Linked DNA regions of Homo sapiens: all the other regions are linked to region 2. The links are contacts of gene promoters, found by promoter capture Hi-C in blood cells and fetal thymus (Javierre and others, 2016). All regions are on one chromosome and are shown on one strand. Each heading gives the region's core, a stretch centred on a gene start or on the middle of the fragment in contact. The rest is flanking DNA. Distances are from core to core; before and after follow the strand shown. Region 1 overlaps SMYD3 (SET and MYND domain containing 3). Region 2 holds the start of SMYD3-AS1 (SMYD3 antisense RNA 1). Region 3 overlaps SMYD3 (SET and MYND domain containing 3).

Region 1 (2,700 bases), core at 157-2,656, 170 kb after region 2:
AGGAAGCTCAAATATGCAGACTATTGAACAGGGAAGAATAGAGTAGGGAGAGAAAAGACGATAGTGTAGTACCATGGGGAAGAACAGTCCAAGAAGTGTGAATTGCTCTGCCAGGGACAGCCCTGCCTGTGACGCATCACACAACTTCTCTATAAAACAAGGCTTTATGATCCTTAAGGCGTCTTCCAGGTCTAAGAGTCTATCATTCTACATTATATAAAAATCTTTAGTTGAACAATTATAGTATCTTGGGGGGAAAGTGTACTAAGGCATCAAGAAAACAATTTTATCTGCTAAGAGTACTTACTCGTAGTAAGTAAGATTAGTATGCAGAATTCTGAGTTTAGCACACACGATGTTCTTAGGATTTGGGAGCCTAGTCTTATAAATGTGAATGCCATACATTAGGTTGCAAAGAAAAGGCCATTCATATCCACGAAGATAACAAAGGAATATATATAGTAGCATGAGGTGATTTTATTTAAAGTTTAATGTCCTCAAGTAATCATTCCATGCTCAGTTTCTTATAACTGTAACTTGGAAATATTGACATTTCATATGCAAGCTATAACTAAAACTAACTTTTCTTTATAACCAGCTAGGAAAAAAATAGGCACAAAGTATTATTTTATAAAGTCTACCAAGTAACGAACATCAAAGAAATGCACATGATATAGTCAGGCTTTTTCTAGCACTTGTCAGTACAAGCCAGTTAGTGGAGTAAATCGGTTTGGCTGAAAGTCCTATGCTGCCATGCGACAGAAAAGAGAGCTAAACTATCCACATTCCATAGTTTACCTTCTGTCACTAATAATCTCCATCATCTACTTAAAAATCTTAGAGAAGCTGGGCACAGTAGCTACTTGGGAGGCTGAGGCAGGAGGATTGCTTGAGCCCAGGCGTTCGAGTCCAGCCAGTGCAACACAGTGAAATCTCCATTTCTCTCTTTAAAAGAATGTTAAAGACATCTACCTCAATTTTTGGCAATCTCCTACTGTAGCTTGAAATGTTAAAGCTTACATTTAGACTGTGCATGTCAGTTTCTATTATCATTCCACTTTACAGAGAATTAAAAAAACACTGTGCTTGCAACTTAAACTGGTATTAAACTGACCCCTGCTGGCCTCATCTTTTCTGTTTCTGCATTTATCAGATGCTTCAAGAGCTAACTGCATTCTATAGTTCAACCTATATTTGATCAGGCTGCCACCTCAAAAACAAAACGTGGGACAAAGATGGCTAGTTGTACCAAATTCCAAATGGAAGGATGCCTTCCTCAGACCTTTGTCTATTTTATTTGCAAAAACCTAGCAATTAAAATCACACTAATATTCCAAAGAAGTATCTCCTATAGCCTATGAATTTATTCTAAAACCTAATGCACTCAATAGACATTTACAGATTTCTCAAAGACTGCCGGGAAATAAAGATTTTTCTAATCACAGCACCTGCCCTCCAGGTACTTACAGGCATTTATGAGTCATTGAAAAGATACATCTGAGAATTCAATTCTAGCATATCATTGGACACCACACAGGTGAGAAGGAAGTGGGGTCCCCATTCAGCCCGTGGTAGAGCCTGCCTCACTGGTGCCAGGTCACTTGAGATTCGTTACTGAAATGGCCCAGGACAATGTGTTCTCTTCCTTCTTTGTGAACTCACTGTGCTTTATGAATTATAATGGCTGCCATTGATTGGCAACCTACTATGTGCCAGAGACTACTACAGTTAGGTGCTTTCCACACACTATCACATTTACCCTACTCAGTAACTCTGTGAGATAGGTGATTTTATGCTCAAGCTTGTATCATGGGTGAGTAAAGCTCTGTGAGAATACTGATCATATCATACCGCAATGTTTTTCCTTTAAAGAGATGTTTCTCCTCTAAACAACAGCAAACACCTTAAGCACAGGAAATTACGTTATTGTCATCTCTGTATCCTCAGAACCTCATATACCTCAGTAAAGGCACATAGTAGGCACTCTAAAAACATCTGCAAAACATACAAATGAAAATATTATTGAAAGAATGTAGCTACTAAATACATACTATGGGCATAACCTATGCTTAGGCACTGAGAAAACAGTGGAGGAAAAGAAAGAAGAGGCAAAGGCTTTGATTCCTGAGCACAGACACCCATACGTGACTATGGAAAGAAAAGGAGAAGTTCCAAGACATAAGTAAACAGAATGCTATGTCAATACAGCTCATACTACCAGTCAGCTCAAAATCAAACAGAAAAAGGACTCCTAAATCAGAGGACAATGACACACTGGTGCTGGGCTATTGGAAATGAAACCTATTAAAGAGGAAAAAAGAGAGAGGAGGTAGAATGTCATTAAATTCCTTTCTGTTTTTGTAACATATCTACAAGACCAAATGATGTGAAAAATAGTTCTGCAAGACGGGGACTATGTGAATCCAGTTTTAAAGGTCCAAATATGTATACTTTACTTATATAGATCATGGCATAGTAGGAAAGACAGAAGATCATAAAAACAAATATAATGTAGAGGTCTAAAAATTGTTTCCTGGTCAGGTGCAGTGGTTCATGCCCGTAATCCTAGCACTTTGGGAGGCCAAGCCAGGAGGACTGCTTGAGCCCAGGAGTTTGAGACCAGCCTGGGCAACATGGCAAGACCCTCATCTCTACAAAAAAAAAAAAAAAAAAAAAAAAAAAAAAAAAAAGCAAAAAAAT
Region 2 (2,700 bases), core at 107-2,606:
GAGCAAGATTCCATCGCAAAAAAAGAAAAAAAAAAAGAATTTTGAAATGGAAATGTATCTATTTTTCCTTTCTTTAGAAAACAAACAGAAAATGAAGCCAACATATCTCATCACAGATTGCTCTTTAAATATGCGACCTTATACCAAAAGCAGACAAGTTCACAAAGAGATTATTTTTATAATTTAATCACAGAAAAGACTAGACTATCAGGTAGTTGGTGGCTACAGAAGTGACTGCTCCCCACTGAAGCAAGGAATGGATAGAATAAGTCCTTGAAATAAATGCTCAGGTCTTCCCTTAGTAATTCTGGACAGTGGGGAAATTAGCTCATTCAAACAAAGTTTATTAAATAAATAAAATCCCAGCACTTGTCTCTTTAGACAAAAACCACATGGAAACAATACAAAAGATTGCTAATGCTTTGGCAAATGAATCACTCTTCCAAATGCCATTTACAAAAGCCCACCAGACCTCCAGCTGTGCTGATGCCATGGGAACCCCTAGGGCAATTATAAGTGGATTTAACTCAAGACCAGAAACACAGGAGTAATTTTTAAAGACCCAAAAACTTCCAAATAAATAAATCTGGAAAGGAATTACTGTTTACACCACAGAGCCACAGGTTCAAATAGCCAAACTTAAAGAAGAAAAAACACACATGTATATATCTACTTCATCATGTAATCTCTGAACAATAGGAACTTTACTGAGTTGTCACTAAGGAAAGAGCAAAATCTAAGATAGGTAGTTTCTGGAAAATGAAAGTCCAGAGAAACTTGGCCATAAAATGAAAATTATAACGGACTTACAGAGCTCGTCTTCTTTGGGTTAAGAAACAAAGGTCTTCTTGTGCAAAGGAAGAATTCGAAAGAGGAATTCTTAAGTAGATGGCTGATGCATCCACGTCTAAACATCCAAAATCTACCAAGCACCTATTACATAACTAAGCCCTGTGTCAGAGGCTGTGGAACAAGAACCACTAAAACTTATCTCTGACCTCAAGAAGTTTATAGTTCAGGGAAGTGACTGACAATCATAATACAGAGGCATAAGGGCTATCCAAATAGGGTCACAGGTTACGCTATGAATACAGGTATCACATCAGAAAATTACCGTACTTAAAATCTCAGCAAAGAGATCACACCCTCACACAATTAATGTTATCAACATCCATCCAGTCTCTCAAGCTCACCCTCTTCAACAATCTTTGCTTTACTGAGTTCCGGGTGGACTATTTAAATATCATACAAATTGATTCTGACATCACAATCACTGCCTGCTTCCTAAAACTTGCCCTCCACCGTCTATTATAAATGCTTTCCAATCAGTGCTCCCATTCTTCATTCTATTCACCACTTAGTTACTAGAATGTTTTTCTCAACTATGAATCTGACTTCACTCCCTTTCTTGAAAACCTCCTGTAGTTCCTGTTGTGTACGGGATAAAGGTCAGACAACTTAGTATAGCCCAGCTCAGTCCAGCTAGCAAAGCAAATACTAGCTTTATTCCCTGCAAGCAACGTAAGACAAAGACAACCACACTAAACTCAGTATTAGCAGACCACCATCCTCCCTGAGGCCTCCACTGCTTTGCACACACTCTTCTCTTTCTCAGAAGGTCCTTTCCCCTCCTCCTGTTGGTGCAGCCAATTCTTTCTCTTCCTTCTAATGCACCATCTTCTGTGTAGTCTTCTTTGACACTAGGTAGGGTTACATCTTTGCTCTGTGTTTCTATAACACTCTTCATATGCCATGGAACTGCATTCATTATATTGGTATAATTTTATTTGTCTTTTTTCTTCCTAGACTGTGAGCCCCTGGAGTTCAGGGACCATTTCTTAATCATATTCCAGAACCTATCACAATGAATGACACGAAGAATATATTTGATAAAAATCTGATGAATGAACCACTCTAAAATGCAACTCTAATAAAGAAAATTACTGCCTATTCAGTTGGAACTGTACCATGTTACAAACGTAAAATTATGTATAGTCTGATAAAGAAATACTATAATAGCCTTGGAAACAGCTCACATACAATTTTTTTTATAAATGGATTCATTACCATATAACTGGACCAGCTTACTGAAGAGTAGCCCTACAGCAGTCACTTCGCAGTTTGCAATTCATTTGAGGTTCAAAGCTAGCTCAAGGGAAAACAACGTTAGTATTAACAAACTTATTTTTAAGCTTAAGGTCAGAATTTAAGGGAAAATAAATAAATATAGTATGTTCTAAGAATCCAAAGGAATTTTTAAAAATTGCCCCCTGCAGCTGTAATTTCTGCATGGATGAGAAAACCTTAATTGCTTGCTGGCTTCCAAGAAAGCCATTAACCTGCATTTAAAAATTCAGCTTTCATCAAGAACAACCTCACATATCCAGCTCTCATGGAAAAAGGAATAGAAGCCTCTGACCTAGTTTTCAATTATTACCAAACTACTGATAATTGATCTCCTGGTCTCCAGGTTTGTTTGTTTTACTAAAATAAATTCCCTCTGGAGCTGCAGGTGCTTACCATGGGGCTGCGCAGGTGGAAAGCAGCCCAGTCTTACTATGAGGATGTCCGTTTGCCATCTGGGAACAAGGAGGAAGAAGCAGAGACCTGGGCAAGACCTCAGAGTAAGTGTCCTTTTTGGCGGCTCCCAGGGGTCCCCATCATGTGTTATAGGAAGGCAGAATTATTTGAGATAAGGAT
Region 3 (2,700 bases), core at 14-2,513, 150 kb after region 2:
ATATGGTGGATAAGAATCCGATTTTAAATCTTGACATTGCTTGAGAATGGGAATAATGTGTTACTTATTTTTCGCACTATGACTAACAATTATTAAACATCTAATATGTACCAAACACAGTTCTGGACATATTCCCATATCTTAACTCGTTTAATCTTGACAACAATCCTTCTGAGGTAGGTTTTATTACCCTTCATTTCAGATGAGGAAATAAACTCACAGACATTACTAATTTGGGTGACTCAGACAGACACAGTTTCCATTTTGTTCTTCCTTTCAGTTAACATATATTTCTTATGGACTTTCTGCTTGTTCCAGGCACTATGCTTGGCACAGCGTCTACCATTTCTCTTTCTACTAAACCATATAGCCGGTCTCTGACACCTAGCACAGTACCTAGGTCATATTAGGTTCTCAATGAAGATTCACTGAATTATTTGGTTAATTTACTTGTCTCTATAAAATAAACATTTACATAGAAATTTGGGTCCAGGTTTATATTATCTTAAAACATCTTGTAATTCAACACTGTTAAAACATGTATTTTAAAAATAGTTTTTCAAAAGAGAAAATATTTCATTGATTATAGACATCTAGGAAACCCAAGTCAGGTGGCAAATACCTGCACTGAAAACTAACAGAATCATGGAAAGGAAGCCTGACACAGCATGATGCACATTCTCTCAACTTTGTATGTAAATAAATCCTACATTCTTTAATTGTCTCAAGAATGCGTGATTTGAATACCTAATTCTATTACAAATATCACATGGGAATGGTCTTCCAATGTTGGTACATGTACTCAAGGCACAATGCATAGTGTTGACCAAAAAGCAAAAGCTTACCATGAAAAAAGGTAAGTAATGGATGGATTACTTTGTAGTCAGACATGGATAAGGTTGAATGTTAGCTCTGCCATTTACTAGCTACCTTATTTTGAGGGAAGTTATTTCACTTTTCTGAGGCTGTTTCTGTACTATAAAATACAGATAATTCTAACAGCATCTACTGTGCACTCAGAGATTATGGTGAGGACTAAATGACAGGATGTATGTGACCTGGGCACATACCCAGGTCAGAGTTAGGGCTCATTAACAGTTAGCTGTATATTGAAGTAGAAAAGTTAGGGAGGCTGGGAAATAAATTTTCTGGTAGGCATGAGGTGGAGCAGACTACATAATGATCACCTTCTTTTTACTGTCTAACCTTTAAAGCTCCTTAGTATGCAGGAAAATGCCTGCTCCTGAATGAGCTGATCTTCATACCAGCGTATTTATCTTTCCTAATTCAAAAACAGCCTCCTTAAAACACAAACATACTTTTTCATACTGTCATTCAAAATAGCTGCTTATGATATAACTTAATAGTAAAAATGGGAAAATTACTGATTTCTTTTTGTACAATTCTATGTACCTTCAACAAATTATGCCTTTTCATTTTCAAAGGATAATACCAATTCCTTCCAAAGGCATGATCAAACCTAAATAGTGGTTAATTTGAACATTTCTTTTAAGTCCCAGAAGAAGAAATTACGTTAACCACTTCTTCATATCTTAAGTGAAAAATGTGTAAGACAGTAACTGTCTTAAATAATTACATTTCTGCTTATTAGGTGTAATTAATATTTTATCCCCAAATTAAGCCAAAATAATTCCTTAGATATAAGATGCCTACACAACCAACAAATCAAGCTTTTAATTTCTGAGTTCTAGCCAAAAGGCCATATTGCCTAAGAAGAGCAGAAATAAATGTTTTTTTTTTTGTTGCCTTTTTAAAAACTTTGTAACCTACATATAAATAGAAGGAAACTCAGATTTCGAATACAGACTTCTGAGGGAAATCAAATGAATACAAAATTTATTGTATACTAAGCAGTAACTCTTGTTTATTCTATCACTTGGGACTGTATATTCTTTTTAAATTAGTATATCAATTGTTCTGAATATAATAATTCAATACAGTCATCTTCCTAAGGGTCCATTTTAAGCATCATTCAAAGCAAGTAGTAGTAAAAAGGAACAAAGCATAAGCCACAGCAGTGCTAAAAATATGGTAATTGATTAAAACAAAAACAATTAGCTGGGTGCAATGGCTCATACCTATAATCCCAGCATTTTGGGAAGCCAAGGTAGGAGGATGGCTTCAGCCCAGAAGTTCACGACCAGCCTGGGCAAGATGGTGAGACCCTGCATCTTAGAACTGATGAAAGACGGTAACTTTTCTATATTTTTTCAATATGATTTTATTCTCACACATCAACAACATTCTAAGATGTCTTACAAAGAATAGCTTTTGTAATCCCATGGCCTCTAATGCAATACAGTGCTTTATACACATTCTATGGGAATTGCAGGTACCATCTCCATAGCCTAAGAGTATGCAATCTGAACCAAATCCTTTTCTGTCCACATCTTGAAGTGCTTCTTAAATTCCTAAGATCTAACTAGTTACTTCTCTATTACCTGTTAGTGGCTCTGCTATAGAAGAAAAGGTGAAAGTAAATATCTACAAAGAAAGACAGTGGGGATAGTGACAACAATAATAACCACTATTTACTAAGTGCTATGTTCTAAACACTTTACATGGACTTTGTTACTTAATGTTTGCAATTCTATGATGCATACAGAATCAGTCTTATTACGAGATGAACAAATTTAGTTTCCAACTGATAATTGTGAAGAAATAAAAAACTACAGGAGA

Evidence for each region. Contacts are between HindIII fragments. The CHiCAGO score rates a contact against its expected background, and 5 or more counts as called.
Region 1: a fragment that was not itself captured here is called in contact with the fragment with the promoter of SMYD3-AS1 in region 2 in 1 of 17 cell types (megakaryocytes); the score reaches 7.8 in megakaryocytes.
Region 3: a fragment that was not itself captured here is called in contact with the fragment with the promoter of SMYD3-AS1 in region 2 in 1 of 17 cell types (megakaryocytes); the score reaches 6.0 in megakaryocytes.

What each region holds. Positions count from the first base shown.
Region 1 is chr1:246,279,651-246,282,350 of GRCh38, forward strand. All of the region lies in intron 5 of SMYD3 (SET and MYND domain containing 3), which reads right to left. Among named protein-coding and RNA genes, the nearest start is that of SMYD3-IT1, 41 kb to the right of the region's middle. The HindIII fragment of the contact is 786 bases long and covers 1,014-1,799 here.
Region 2 is chr1:246,107,270-246,109,969 of GRCh38, forward strand. It overlaps SMYD3-AS1 (SMYD3 antisense RNA 1), which reads left to right and starts at 1,357. Exons shown (of 4, transcript NR_183265.1): 1 at 1,357-1,448; 2 at 2,513-2,624. The region is part of intron 5 of SMYD3 (SET and MYND domain containing 3); the gene reads right to left. The HindIII fragment of the contact is 2,656 bases long and covers 1-2,190 here.
Region 3 is chr1:246,262,291-246,264,990 of GRCh38, forward strand. The region is part of intron 5 of SMYD3 (SET and MYND domain containing 3); the gene reads right to left. Among named protein-coding and RNA genes, the nearest start is that of SMYD3-IT1, 59 kb to the right of the region's middle. The HindIII fragment of the contact is 851 bases long and covers 839-1,689 here.